Regions from separate parts of the Homo sapiens genome. Here regions 1 and 3 are each linked to region 2. The links are contacts of gene promoters, found by promoter capture Hi-C in human tissues and cell types (Jung and others, 2019). All regions are on one chromosome and are shown on one strand. The core of a region is centred on a gene start or on the middle of the fragment in contact, and the rest is flanking DNA. Distances in the headings are between cores, read along the strand shown.

Region 1 (4,663 bases), core at 2,087-4,586, 170 kb before region 2:
AGCTGGGACTACAGGTGTGCACCACCACACCCAGGTAATTTTTGTATTTTTAGTAGAGACTGGGTTACAGCATGTTAGCCAGGCTGGTCTCGAACTCCCGGTCTCAAGCAATCTGCCTGCCTCAGCTTCCCAAAGTGCTGAGATTACAGGCGTGAACAACTGTGCCCAGATTTATTTTTTAATTTTTCAGAGGCAGGGTCTTTCTCTGTCACTCAGGCTGGAGTGCAGCGTCAGGATCATAGCTGACGCTGGACCTCCTGGGCTCCTCTTGCCTCAGCCTCTCAAGTAGCTGGGACTACAGACATGTGCCACCATGTCTGGCTAATTTTCTTTATTTTTTGTAGAGAGACAAGGTCTTGCTATGTTGCCCAGGCTGGTCTTTAACTTCTGGCTTCAAGCTATGCTCCTGCCTCAGCCTCCTGAGTAGCTGAGATTACAGGTGCATGCCTCCATGCCTGGCCACCACGGCCAATTTCAAGCTACCAATATGAGATCATTGAACATGCAATTGGAAAGAAATGCACAGTATTACATTGTTCTATAGCAAGCCTATTACACAGACATAATAAATGTAAATAGGCCAGGCAAGATGGTTCATACCTGTAATCCCAGCACTTTGGGAGGCTGAGGCAGGAGGATCGCTTTGAGCTCAGGAGTTCGAGGCCAGCCTGGGTAACATAGTGAGACCCCATCTCTACAAAAAAACACAAAATTAACTGAGTGTGGTGACGGGCACCTGTAGTCCCAGCTACTCAGGAGGCCAAGGCAGGAGACTCATTTGAGCCCAGGAGGCGGAGGTTGCAGTGAGCACATACATTGATTGGCACACAGATTGGCAGATACTAACATACAGTGTGTTTTTTTCTCCAGAGAACTGGCTGGTAAGTGTTTACCATAGTAAGAAGACTTACTATAGAACAATGTATTACTGTGCGTTTCTTTCCAATTCCATGTTCAATGATCTCTTATTGGTAGCTTGAAATTGGCCGTGGTGGCCAAGCATGGGGGCGTGCACCAGTAAGGGAAAGCTGAAATGGAAAACAGAGGGTTTAGGGCAACAGTCCTGAATTCCGGAGTGCTGTCCCCCTGGGGGAGTTATGGGAATCTGTGGGGGTTGTTTTTAGTTGTCACAGTGGAGGTCCTAGGATGCTACCACAGCGTTTACGCGGCTGGGGTCAGCGACAATAAAAGTTACGCAATGAAGGTTTGTCCTGCATTCTCAGGACTTTGTTTTATTTTTGAGACAGAGTCTTGCTCTGTCACCCAGGCTGGAGTGCAGTGGTACCATCTCGGCTCACTGCAACCTCTGCCTCCCAGGTTCAAGGAATTCTCCTCCCCTAGCCTCCTGAGTAGCTGGGATTACAGGCGTGCACCACCATGCCCAGCTAATTTTGTATTTTTAGTAGAGATGGAGTTTCACTAAAAAAAAATGTTGGCTAGGCTGGTCTCAAACTCCTGACCTCAGGTGATCCTCCTGCCTCGGCCTCCCAAAGTGCTGGGATTGCAGGCATGAGCCACTGCGCCCAGGTCATTCCCATGACTTTGGAACATCTGTGGGACATTCATGGAGTTGGAAAGTCTAAGCCTCTGAGCCCCAAATCTGTTTTGCGTTTTTTTTTTTTTTTTTTTTTTGAGAGGGAGTCTTGCTCTGTCGCCCAGGCTGGAGTGCAGTGGTGTGACCTCGGCTCACTGCAAGCTCCGCCCCCGGGGTTCACGCCATTCTCCTGCCTCAGCCTCCCAAGTAGCTGGGACTACAGGCACCCACCACCACGCCCGGCTAATTTTTTTTTTATATATATTTTTAGTAGAGACGGGGTTTCACTGTATTAGCCAGGATGGTCTCAATCTCCTGACCTCGTGATCCGCCCGACTCAGCCTCCCAAAGTGCTGGGATTACAGGCGTGAGCCACCACACCTGGCCTGTTTTGCATATTTTATGACAGCTCACCTCCCCACTTCCCCGCCCCACCCTGTTTCTTTTTTCCTTGTCGCTGAATCACAGGGAAACAGGTCGTTTGTCCTGTGGACGGGCTCACATTCTGGACTGGGCTGATTGCTGCCTCATGGTGTCGTTTCACTGGGAACTTTGTCCTCCTGTTTTCTGCAAACTGGTGGTTAGAGTGGGAAGCTTGATCTGATTTTTTTGTTTGTTTGTTTGAAGGGAGCTCCGTAGCTGGTAGGTAGCCTCCTGCTGCTTAGCTGAAGCTGGGGAGTGGCTGCTGGTTTCTCTTTCCTCCTGTTAGGACTGCTGGGAGCTCTGGTGGTGCCTGCCTCTTCTCTCAGTAAAATTCCTCATCCATCTTTTTTTTTTTTGAGACAGAGTTTTGCTCTTGTTTCCCAGGCTGGAGTGCAATGGTGTAATCTCAGTTTACTGCAACCTCCGCCTCCCAAGTTCAAGCGATTCTCCTGCCTCAGCCTCCCAAGTAGCTGGGATTACAGGTGCATGCCACCACGCCCCACTGATTTTTGCATTTTTAGTAGAGACAGGGTTTCACCATGTTGGCCAGACTGGTCTCAAACTCCTGACCTCAGGTGATCCACCTGCCTCGGCCTCCCAAAGTGCTGGGATTACAGGCATGAGCCACTGTGCTGGGCCATGGCTAATTTCTGTATTCTTATAAGGACGGGGTTTCACCTTGTTGGCCAGGCTGGTCTCTGACTCCTGACCTCAGTTGATCCGCCTGCCTCGGCCTCCCAAAGTGCTAGAATTACAGGTGTGAGTCACCACACCGGGCCCATTTGTATTTAAAAATTTTTTTGAAATAGGCAGGGCGAGGTGGCTCACGTCTGTAATCCCAGCACTTTGGGAAGCTGAGGCAGGAGAATCCCTTGAACTTGTGAGGCGGCGGTTGCAGTGAGCTGAGATCACGCCATTGCACTCCAGCCTGGGCAACAAGAGCAAAACTCTCTCAAAAAGTAATACTACTAATAATTAATTAATAAATAAATATAAGACTCTGAGGGGACTCAGAGTCAGCGAGAGCCTGGCCTAGCAGGACTCTGTCCCCCGCCTCCATGCTGCCTTCCTGGAGGCCTTCCTGGCTGCCTGGAGGAGCGGAGCAGAGTGGGGGCCCCTTTCTGTTGGGGCATCACAACAGTTCCCCAAGGAAGACCCTCGGGGACCCGGATGGGGGATGCGACCTTGTCCTGCCTCTCTCCCCCACCCTTATGGCCAGGCTTGGGGTGCCTGGTGCAGGTGGAGGAGCTAAGGGTAGATAACAAGATGGACTTTGTGGCCGGCAATGGGGAGGGAGGAGGGGCTACGGGCTCACCTCCCTCCCGCAGCCCAGCCACACCTGCTCTGGAAAGCCCTGTAGCTCCTGGGCGGGGTTTGCCAGTCACCGATGCTGGAAGGGTTTCTTTGGCCCTGAGTGAAGAGAGACCCAGAGGGAACACTGAGGTGCCTGCCCAACCACTCTGTCCCGGTTTCCTTCAGCAGGACCAGGTGAGAGAAGGTGAGGGGGCTCCTCTCCCACCCTACAACACGCACACCTCTGCACACACGCCCAGGCGGAGAGCAGGGATTTGGGACGTGGACCTGTGTGCCCTCGTGGGTCCCTGGTGCCCTCTGGGAGGCACCCCCAACTCAGGACCTCCAGGAGAGGAGGGTCCCTCCCTCGGCAGCCAGGACCCCCCTCCCCAGCCAGCCGCCCTCCTTAGCTCCCTCCCCACTTCCTTCCAGGTGGATCTGTTTCTAGAGCTCCAACCACCAGCTCCCTCCCCTTCTCCACCCCGGGCCACCAGGTCCTTCCTTGTCTCCTTCCCCTCAGCAGTTTCTATGAACCACCCTGGCAGTAATGGTGCAGATGGCTCGCGCACAGCTGGTGGTGACCCGACTTTCCTGCCTCCACCCTGGGGCTCCTCAGAGGCTTCATGGAACCCAAACTGCTGGTCTCACCTCCGAGCCCTGCCGTCGCCCAGGGAGGGCGGCTCCGTCCCTCCTGCACTCCCTAATCCCGCTCTGAATCACCGCTTCTGTTCTGGGTCGGAGAATAAAGGTGGGGTTTCCAAGTGATGGCCCTACGTTATTGTCTGAAGCTCCCTTCTCCTCCCCAGGGTGGAAGTGATAATGCCGGGAATCCGGGAATCCCGGGGAGGTGCAGGAAGACAGCGAGCTCGAGGCAGTGGGGTGCGACTGAGCCGGATGTGCTGAGCTGCCCGGGGCACGGGGCGGTTGGGGTAGAGAAAGGCTTTCAGAGCTGGGGGACAGGACGGGGCCCCGGGTGAGCGGAGAGCTGGGTTATTTCACGGGAACAGCTGGTGACAAAGCCGGAGGGGTGTGCGGGGCCGGCGAGAGACTGGGATTGTGTCTTAAGAGGCATAGGGAGCCCTGAAGGGGCTGCGAGCTGGGAAGGGGCAGGGCCGGCGCTGGGTGTAGGGGACAGAGGGGAGAGGAGGAAGCCGGGCCGCAATAGAAAGACGTGGACGGGGCTGGACGTGGTGGCTGACGCCTGTAATCCCAGCACTTTGGGAGGCCGAGACAGGCGGATCACTTGAGGTCAGGAGTTCGAGACCAGTCTGGCCAACATGGAGAAACCCCGTCTCTACTAAAAATACAAAATTAGCCAGGCGTGGTGGTGCATGCCTGTAATCCCAGCTACTCGGGAGGCTGAGGCAGGAGAATCGTTTGAACCCGGGAGGCGGAGGTTGTGGTGAGCCGAGA
Region 2 (4,540 bases), core at 981-3,480:
ACCCCTGCCTCTCGGGTTCAAGTGATTCTCCTGCCTCAGCCTCCTGAGTAGCTGAGATTGCAGGCACGTGCCACCACGCCTGGCTAATTTTTGTATTTTTAGCAGAGACGCGGTTTCGCCATGTCAGTCAGGCTGCTCTTGAACTCCTGACCTCAGGTGATCCACCCGCCTCAGCCTCTTAAAGTGCTGGGATTATAGGCGTGAGCCACTGCGCCGGGCCGAGACTCTTTTTTTGATGGGCAGAGGGAGGTGTTCAGAGGCAAGGAAGAGGCTGTAGGGAAGCAATTTGGGGATCAAGCATCCACTGCCAAGAAGCAGATGCCCTTGGCCACCAGAGCCAGAGCTGTAGTAGGTCCTTTGGGATCTGAACTGGGACTATGGGCTGGGAGGGCCCCATAATCAGGGGGAACTCTCACGCTGAGTCTCCAGTGAATCAAAGGATGCCCTGGTGCCCTGCGGTCACACCCCTTAGCAACCAAGTACAAGGAGAGGAAGCCTCAAATCCCTCCATCCTGCCCGGATGGAGCCTCATCTCCTGATGCCCACAGATATCTCAGGCATCCTTAGCCAGGTCCCGACAATATGCCCTTCCTTGGAAGCGGTGGTACTGACCAAGGCTGAGATCAGATCTCTGGGCTCTGAACTTGAGAAACAATATGTGTGGAACGGCAGGAGGAAAAAGAAATGAGTGTCTCCCTAAGCTTTTGGCTGGGATGCCGATTTGGGATGCAAGTATCTGGAGGCCCCTTGGGTCTTATTGTCAGAGAAGGGTCTCTCCTTATAGGATTTCATTAGTGGGTAGATTGGATGGCGAGAGATAGGACAGCAAGTTCTGGCACTAATCAAGAGCAGCCACTACTTCTCAGAACTCGAGGGGCCTCATGGCTGGGGAGCGGCTTTATCTTAGCAACCAGGGTCAAGGGAGGTTGTTACTCTGGTTTAGAATTAGGAAAATACAAAGGGTGGGGACAGAGCTGGGAGTGCCTCTGAATTCCTAGCTGCGGTGTGTAGGCAATTTGGGACCTTACTATGTCTGGCAGACCCCGTTGCTAAGGATCTTTGTCCTTAACAACCAGAGTCCTTGGGGAAACAGAAGGATGGGCGGCCCAGAGCCCCACCTTCCTCCCCATCCCCGCCAGGAAGCTCAAACCTTGGGGCTCAGGCTGCTGAGCGAGGAGATGGTGGAGGCGCTGCTGGCCAGGCTCAGGCTGCTGCGAGGTCGGCTCCCCTCCATCAAGGGCTGGGGGAGAGAAAGAAAGGGGCTGTGTCTCTGCAGTGACGGGTGTGAGACAGAGATGGGGTCAGGGGCTTGGAGGTCGGAGGAGGCTGCAGAGAAAGAGCCTGTTGTTTCGGGACTTGGGGGGCTGGGGGAGGCCATGGCCCGTGACCACATACCAAGAGTGGTGCCAAGAGAGGTAGGCGGCCCTGGCAGCTGCGGGAGGGGGCAGCTGTCTGCAGCCCAGGCCAGAGAATAGGGGCTTCTTTATTCCTGCCCACTGCACTCAGGCCAGGAATTTGACCCTCTCTGTGCTTAGGGACTCCCCATTCCCTGCCTCCTTCCGGCTGCCCCAGGCTACCTGTCTCCCGCCCTCCCACATGCACCCCCAAACCACCCCTGCCAACTCCCCAAGCCAAGCCCTGCGGCACCAGGAATGTGAACCCAGAGAGCCCCTCCCAGCCCAGCCAGGGAACTTACCCAGCTCTGGGGTCCCAGTGACGGGGGGGCAAGAGGACGGTGTGGGTGCTGCGGCACCTAGGCAGTCTCCCGCCTCCTTTGTCTCTTAGCTGCTGTCTCTCATAGTTCTCAATCTCTCTCCTCACCTGCTCACTCACACTTTTTGTCTCTTTGTCTCCTGTCTCTTACGGTCTCTCTCTCTCTCTCTTCCTTTTACACTACCTCTCTCCCCACTCTCACTTTCTGTGTCTCCCTCTGATCTCTGTCTCTTCCAGTCTCTCTCTCACTCATTCTCTCCCTCTCTCTCTCTCTCCAATCTTTCTGTTTCTGTCCAAATCTTTTATTGTCAGACTCACAGGGTCTCTTCCTTAAGTCTCTGTCTCATTCTCTCTCTCTCTCTCTCTCTGTCTCTCAGTCATCCCCTGTGTCCTCTCTCCTTCACACTCAGTCTCTTCCTCTTTCTCTCTGGCTCTGCCGTTTCCTCCCTTTTCTCTTTCCGATTTCCCTTCTCACTTTCTCCCTTCCTCCCTCTCCCAGTTTCTCTTTCCTCTCTGCTGGTCTTTCCCTGCCTCTGCCAGCCGCCCACGCTGCTGTTCTCCCCTCCCAATCCCGGCTGTCCCCGCCCCTTCTGGCCTCCCCACTACAGCCTGACCTCTGGCTCAGCTGCCCCCATAGCTGAAGGGAGGGGCTTGGGCCCCCCAATTCCCAGGTCCCCTAAGGACCAAGGTTGGGACTTCTCAGTGTTTGGAGAGTTGGACTTGAGGCCTGCACTCCAGGGCCCCCGTGGGTTTGCTGCTGTGGTTGGGGGCCTGAGCCACTGGTGTCCTAAACGGAGGAGGCTTGTGTCCTGCAAGGGGTGGGGACTCAAATTTCCAAAGCCCTGGAGGGAATGGGTTAGGGATCCAGACTCCTGGGTGCCCGAGAAGGTCTGAGCTAGGATCAGGACTCCTGAGTCGTGAAAGAGCTGGGGGTCTGGAAACATGGCTGTGCTTGGAAGGGGCCAGGGACGGTTTGTCCAGGTCCCCTAGGGAGAAAAGGGGATGGTCCCAGTAGGGCAGGGTGAAATGGAGAGTTCCAAACCTCCACCTCAGATCCAGGTGAGAATTCTCTTCTAGACTGAGGACAACTCCCTCAGGAGAGAGACATGATTCCTTGGTATATTTTGAGGAACAAGATTATGCATCCGTAGGCAGGGGAGGAGAGCGGGGGGCTGGAACTGTCACCCAGGGCCTGGAACTTGTAGCAGAAGCGCCCCCACCCGCACAAAGAGTGCCACCCAGGCAGAATCGCGGCTTGTGGGGGCAGAGCTACTGCCTAAGTCTGAAGCAGATGACACCCAGGAGTGGAGCCTTGTGCCTGTGACCGGGAAGGAATCTGAGCTTTCGGTTTAACTGCCATTCACCATGCACCTGTTGAGCACCTACTGTGTGCAGGCACTGTCTGTTGCAGCCACTGAGAAGAAAGCAGTGAGCCCTGGCTGGGTGCAATGGCTCACGCCTGTAATCCCAGCACTTTGGGAGGCCAAGGCAGGAGGATCGCTTGAGACCAGGAGTTCAACACCAGCCTGGGCATCATAGCGAGACCTTGTCTCTATTTAGAAAATGAATTTCTTTTTTTTTTTTTTTTGAGGCGGTGTTTTGCTCTGTCGCCAGGCTGGAGTGCAGTGGCGTGATCTCGGCTCACTGCAACCTCCGCCTCCCGGGTTCAAGCGATTCTCCTGACTCAGCCTCCTGAGTAGCTGGAACTACAGGCACATGCCACTGCACCCGGCCTAAATTAATTATTATTATTATTTTTTTGAGACGGAGTCTCGCTCTGTCGCCCAGGCTGGAGTACAGTGGCACGATCTCAGCTCACTGCAAGCTCTGCCTCCCAGGTTCACGCCATTCTCCTGCCTCAGCCTCCCGAGTAGCTGGGACTACAGGTGCCCACCACCACGCCCGGCTAATTTATTTTGTATTTTTAGTGGAGGCGGGGTTTCACCGTGTTAGCCAGGATGGTCTTGATCTCCTGACCTCATGATCCACCTGCCTCAGCGTCCCAAAGTGCTAGGATTACAGGCGTGAGCCACCGCGCTCAGCCTAATTACTTTTTTTTGAAAAGCATTGAGCCCAGCAAAGTGCCTGATCTCATAGTGCTTACATCCTCATTCTCATTTGCAAGGAATCTGGACCCTGCTGTGACTATCTTGGTCAAGTGGCTTCATTTCCAAGCCTGTTTCCCCATCTGTGAAATGGGAACAATGACACCCTCGCACTCGGGGAGGAAACCAACCACATGTGAAAATAGGAGACTCTAGCCAGGCGTGGTGGCAAGCTCCTGTACTCCCAACTACTCAGGAGGCTGAGGCAGGAGAATTGCTTGAACCCGGGAGGCGGAGGTTGCAGTGAGCCAAGATCATGCCATTGCACTCCAGCCTGGGTGACAGAGTGAGACACCGTCTCAAAAAAAAAAAAAAAAAAAGAAAGAAAAAGAAAAAAGAAAGAAAAGAAAAAAAAAAGAAAATGGGAGACTCTAGGCTGGGGCCTGTGGGCTAAATTGGGGTAGGAGGCCAGGCACAGTGGATCACAACTGTAATTCCAGCACTTTGGGAAGCCAAGGCGGGCAGATCACCTGAGGTCAGGAGTTCAAGACCAGCCTGGTCGGCCGGGTGCGGTGGCTCACACCTGTAATCCCAGCACTTTGGGAGGCCGAGGCGGGTGGATCACAAGGTCAGGAGATCGAGACCATCCTGGTTAACACGGTGAAAAACCCCGTCTCTACTAAGAATACAAAAAAAATTAGCCGGGCGTGGTGGTGGGCACCTGTAGTCCCAGCTACTAGGGAGGCTGAGGCAGGAGAATGGCGAGAACCAGGGAGGAGGAG
Region 3 (4,111 bases), core at 1-2,500, 150 kb before region 2:
GGACCAGTGAGGCGCAGGCGCGAGCTCCCCAGGGGGAGGATGAGGGGCGGGTGCGAGGAGAAGCTTTCGAAGATGTCCCCTGTGAGGCCGAAGGCGGCGCGGTTAGAGTCTGAAAGTGGGAGTGAGGTAGTTGCATCGGGAAGAGCCGAGGCTGCGTCACACCCAAAGGAAGAAAAAAACTACAAACCCCAGCAACTCCTGGGGCGGGGTCCGTTCACACGCTACTCTAGGAGCCCCTGGGCATGATGGAAGTTGTAGTTCAGACGATGGAAGGCCACCGTTGCCTGGGAAACGGCTTCCCAAATCCCCGAGAAAGGGCTGGGAACTTGCCTTACAGATTCCTAAAGGTGGAGGAGTCAAGTTCAGGGGAGTGAAAGTCCCGAGACCTGGACTCCTAGGGGTGGTGGGTGGGTGGCTGGTGGAGGGAATGGACTAGGGATGCGAACCCCAGAGAATAAAGGGAGCTGGGGGCTTGAACTCCTGTATCTTGACGGGGGAAGGGGCTGGGTCCTGCACTTATGTCCTGGTGGGGAGGGACAGGGGTCCAGAATCTGGGGTTAGAAGGAGACTGGGGATCTGGACTCCAAGATCCTGAGAAAAGAAGAAAGGTGAGGTGGTTCACGCCTGTAATCCCAGCACTTTGGGAGGCCGAGGCGGGCGGATCACGAGGTCAGGAGTTCGAGACCAGCCTGGCCAACACGGTGAAACCCCCGTCTCTACTAAAGATACAAAAAATTAGCCAGGCGTGGTGGCGCATGCCTGTAATCCCAGCTACTCGGGAGGCTGAGGCAGGAGAATCGCTTGAACCCGGGAGGCAGAGGTTGCAGTGAGCCAAGATCGCGCCATTGCACTCCAGCCTGAGTGACAGGGCGAGACTCCGTCTCAAAAGAAGAAGAAAGCTGACAGCCCCAATGCTGTATCCCATTGCTCCTCACCTGTGTCCACAGCCTCCCGCTCTGCAGGGGGAGGGTCCCACGCGGCTGGCGGCCCGCGGCCAGGGCCCAGCTGATAGTGGCTGAGCAGATGGTGCAGCTGGGCGGGGGTCAAGGTGGGGTGGTCGGTTCTTAGGCTGCTCCATGAAGCCTGGTGGGAAGACCAGGTGAGAGGTTGATGGTCATTACGGGGCAGTTAAGAAATGAAATGGAAGGGCTTCCATAAGGGGAGTGGGTGTGGTGGGAAGATAATGGCATCTCTGCAGTGTCTTCTGGGCACTGTGAAGTCTGTTTATCACCAAAGTGATGGTGGGGAAGGGTGTGCTCCCAGCAATTTGTAAAAATGTGATGTGCCTCAGGATAATTGAGGATACAGGAAATGAGTAGGGTGGAAATAAATAAGATTGGCCATTCGTTTATATTATTGAATCTGGCGATGGTACTTGGGGATTTTTTTTTTTTTTTTTTTTTTTTGTCCTTAAAGAGACAGGGTCTCACTCCGTCGCCCAGGCTGGAGTGCAGTGGCTCGATCGTGGCTTGCTGCAGCCTCAAACTCCCGGCTCAAGTGATCCTGGGCTCAAGTGATCCTTGGCCCCAGCCTCCAGAGTAGCTGGGACTACAGGCACACGCCACCACACCTGGTTAAGTTTTTGTAGAGATGGGATCTCACTATGCTGCCCAGGCTGGTCTCAAGCTTCTCAAAGTTCTAGGATTACAGGCATGAGCCACTGCGCCCAGTTGGGATTCATTATTCTATGGCGGCCACTCTATATCTGTTTGACAATGTCTACACCTGATGTAGCTGACGTCAGAACCATCAATGTGCTTAACATCAGAGACTCCACCTAGACTGCCTGAGTTCAAAAATCCCAGGTGGGTCACTTATTACCTTCCGGCAGGTCACCGTCCCCTAGTCTCCTCATCCATAAATTTGGAGAACAGGAACTATCTAATAGAGTTGGTATGAGGATGCAATATGGCAAAATTGTAAAGTACTTGGAACACTGCCTGGGGCTTATTAAATGCATGGTAAACTTTCTTTCTTATTGTTTTGAGACAGGGTCTTGCTTTGTCACCCATGCTGGAGTACAGTGGCATGACTGTGGCTCACTGCAGCCTCAACCTCCTGGGCTCAAGCAGTCCTTCCACCTCTGCTTCTGGAGTGGCTGGGACCACAGACGTGTGCCTCCACACCTGGCTAATTTTTAAAATTTTTGGTAGAGATGGTGTCTCCCCTATGTTGCCAACTGGTGTCAAACTCCTGGGCTCAAGCGGTCCTTCCACCTCGGCCTCCCAAAATGCTGGCATTACAGGCATTAGCCACTACGCCCAGCCCATTATAAACATTTGATATAAATAAATAAATGTCTATGGGGAACAGTTTTTGTAAGATATTTAAGAAGAAAGGAAAATAAATAATTGAAATTGGCCGGCCATGGTGGCTCACGCCTGTAATCCCAGCACTTTGGGAGGCCGAGGCAGGCGCATCCCCTGAGGTCAGGAGTTCAAGACCAGTCTGCCCAACAAGGTGAAACCCTGTCTCTACCAAAATTACAAAAATTAGCCGGGTGTGGTGGCGCGTGCCTGTTATCCCGGCTACTCAGGAGGCTGTGGCAGGAGAATCGCTTGAACTCGGGAGGCGGAGGTTGGAGTGAGCCGAGATCATGCCATTGCACTCCAGCCTGGGTGACAGAGTGAGACTCCGTCTCAAAAAAAAAAAAAAAAAAAGGAAAAATAAGTGAAATCAAGCGACCTGTCCTACCTGATTCTGTTTCCTCATCCAAAAAACAGTCAGTCACCTACTTCGATGGGGCTTTGTCAGCATTAAACTAGAAGTGCTAAACAGGGTGCCTGGCAGGTAGTTCATGTTCAATGAATGTTTTAATCATCATGTTCCTTTGTCTCATACCACACTTTCTGACTCAGCATGTCTGAGTGAGGGACCCTGGAAACTTTTTTTTTTTTTTTTTTTCTGGAGACAGGGTCTCGCTCTGTCGCCCCGGCTGGAGTGCAATGGTGCAATCTTGGCTCACTGCAGCTTCTGCCTCCCAGGTTCCAGCGATTCTCCTCCCTCAGCCTCCAGAGTAACTGGGATTACAGGCGTGCGCCATCAAGCCTGGCTAATTTTTGTATTTTTAGTAGAGACAGCGTTTCGCCATGTTGGCCAGGCTGGTCTCAAACTCCTGGCCTCAAGTGATCCACCTACTTAGGCCTCCCAAAGTGTTGGGATTATAGGCGCGAGCCACTGCTCCTGGCCTGGAAACTATTTTTAATAAGTTCCACCAGGATTCAGACACAGCCGAGTTTAGTCATTGTTGGTGCTGGCTTCCTTCTACCTGCCAATGTGTTACCCACAGTGTCTGAGCTGGGGCTGGGGATGGCATGGGGTTCAAGGGGAGCTCTGACGGTGAGCTGAATATAGAAGGTGGCTGAGGGGGGTTGAGGAGTCAGAGGTCAGGGGTCAGGTATAGCTGACCAGGAGTCACCTTGAGCAGGGAAGTGCGGGGCACACAGAGCAGGTTCACAGCCATGGAGAGTTTCCGGAAGAACTCAGTGGCAATGTCGCCCAGCCCAGCTCCCTGTAGCCAGTCCAAGACGAGGTCCAGGTTGGTTCGGATTTGAACAGCTCGGGACCATTGATAGAAAGGCCGGCCTTGACCTGTGGGTGTTAAAGGTATGAGAGGCAGTTGGTTGGCTGGACTCTGTGCTCCTGCCTCCCAGACTCTTCCTATCCTTCAGCCTGGGATCTGGAGCTTGTTCTCCAGGGTACCCAAAGGTGAGGCTTGAGCCCGTGGTGTGTCTAATATGACCTGAGTCTCAGTGGCTCCTGTCTTTGCCTCCCTGACAGCTCCCAGCCAACCTTCACCTCGTTCCATCAGCGAGTTGAGAAGGGATGCGTTGGAGAAGAAGAACAAGTAGCCAAAAGTCTGAGACACGAGGTCAGGGTGCAGCTCGCACTGGCTGGTCAGCTCCAAGGCTGCCTGGAACACGCCCAGGGTAGGTCTCAATCCTGGAGGCATGGCCCCCAGCTCCGCGCCAGGCCCCGGCAGCTCTGCACCAGCTGTGAAAGGGTTACTATCCAGGAGAGCAGGCAGCGTTGAATAGAGAGTCTGAGAAAATAGAGAAGTGGAAACAAGTGATTGGACTACAACTCCCAGGAAGCTTCAGGGTAATAGAGC

The links. The method cuts DNA at HindIII sites, captures the fragments that hold promoters and counts their contacts. A contact is called where the count stands out against the background at its distance.
Region 1: the fragment with the promoter of FUT2 here is called in contact with the fragment with the promoter of PLEKHA4 in region 2 in 1 of the 25 tissues and cell types used here (adrenal gland).
Region 3: a fragment that was not itself captured here is called in contact with the fragment with the promoter of PLEKHA4 in region 2 in 1 of the 25 tissues and cell types used here (lymphoblastoid cells).

Annotation. Positions count from the first base shown.
Region 1 is chr19:48,692,635-48,697,297 of GRCh38, forward strand. It overlaps FUT2 (fucosyltransferase 2 (H blood group)), which reads left to right and starts at 3,337. Exons shown (of 2, transcript NM_000511.6): 1 at 3,337-3,455. RefSeq lists enhancers at 2,608-3,171, 3,736-4,299. The HindIII fragment of the contact is 31,324 bases long and covers 1-4,663 here.
Region 2 is chr19:48,866,387-48,870,926 of GRCh38, forward strand. PLEKHA4 (pleckstrin homology domain containing A4) reads right to left here and starts at 2,231. Exons shown (of 20, transcript NM_020904.3): 1 at 1,697-2,231; 2 at 1,151-1,240. The coding sequence starts at 1,234. The HindIII fragment of the contact is 25,039 bases long and covers 1-4,540 here.
Region 3 is chr19:48,720,919-48,725,029 of GRCh38, forward strand. It overlaps RASIP1 (Ras interacting protein 1), which reads right to left. Exons shown (of 12, transcript NM_017805.3): 9 at 3,799-4,042; 10 at 3,419-3,591; 11 at 936-1,083; 12 at 1-79. Among named protein-coding and RNA genes, the nearest start is that of MAMSTR, 3.2 kb to the left of the region's middle. RefSeq lists enhancers at 1-393, 98-147 and a cis regulatory region at 1-130. The HindIII fragment of the contact is 3,220 bases long and covers 1-2,860 here.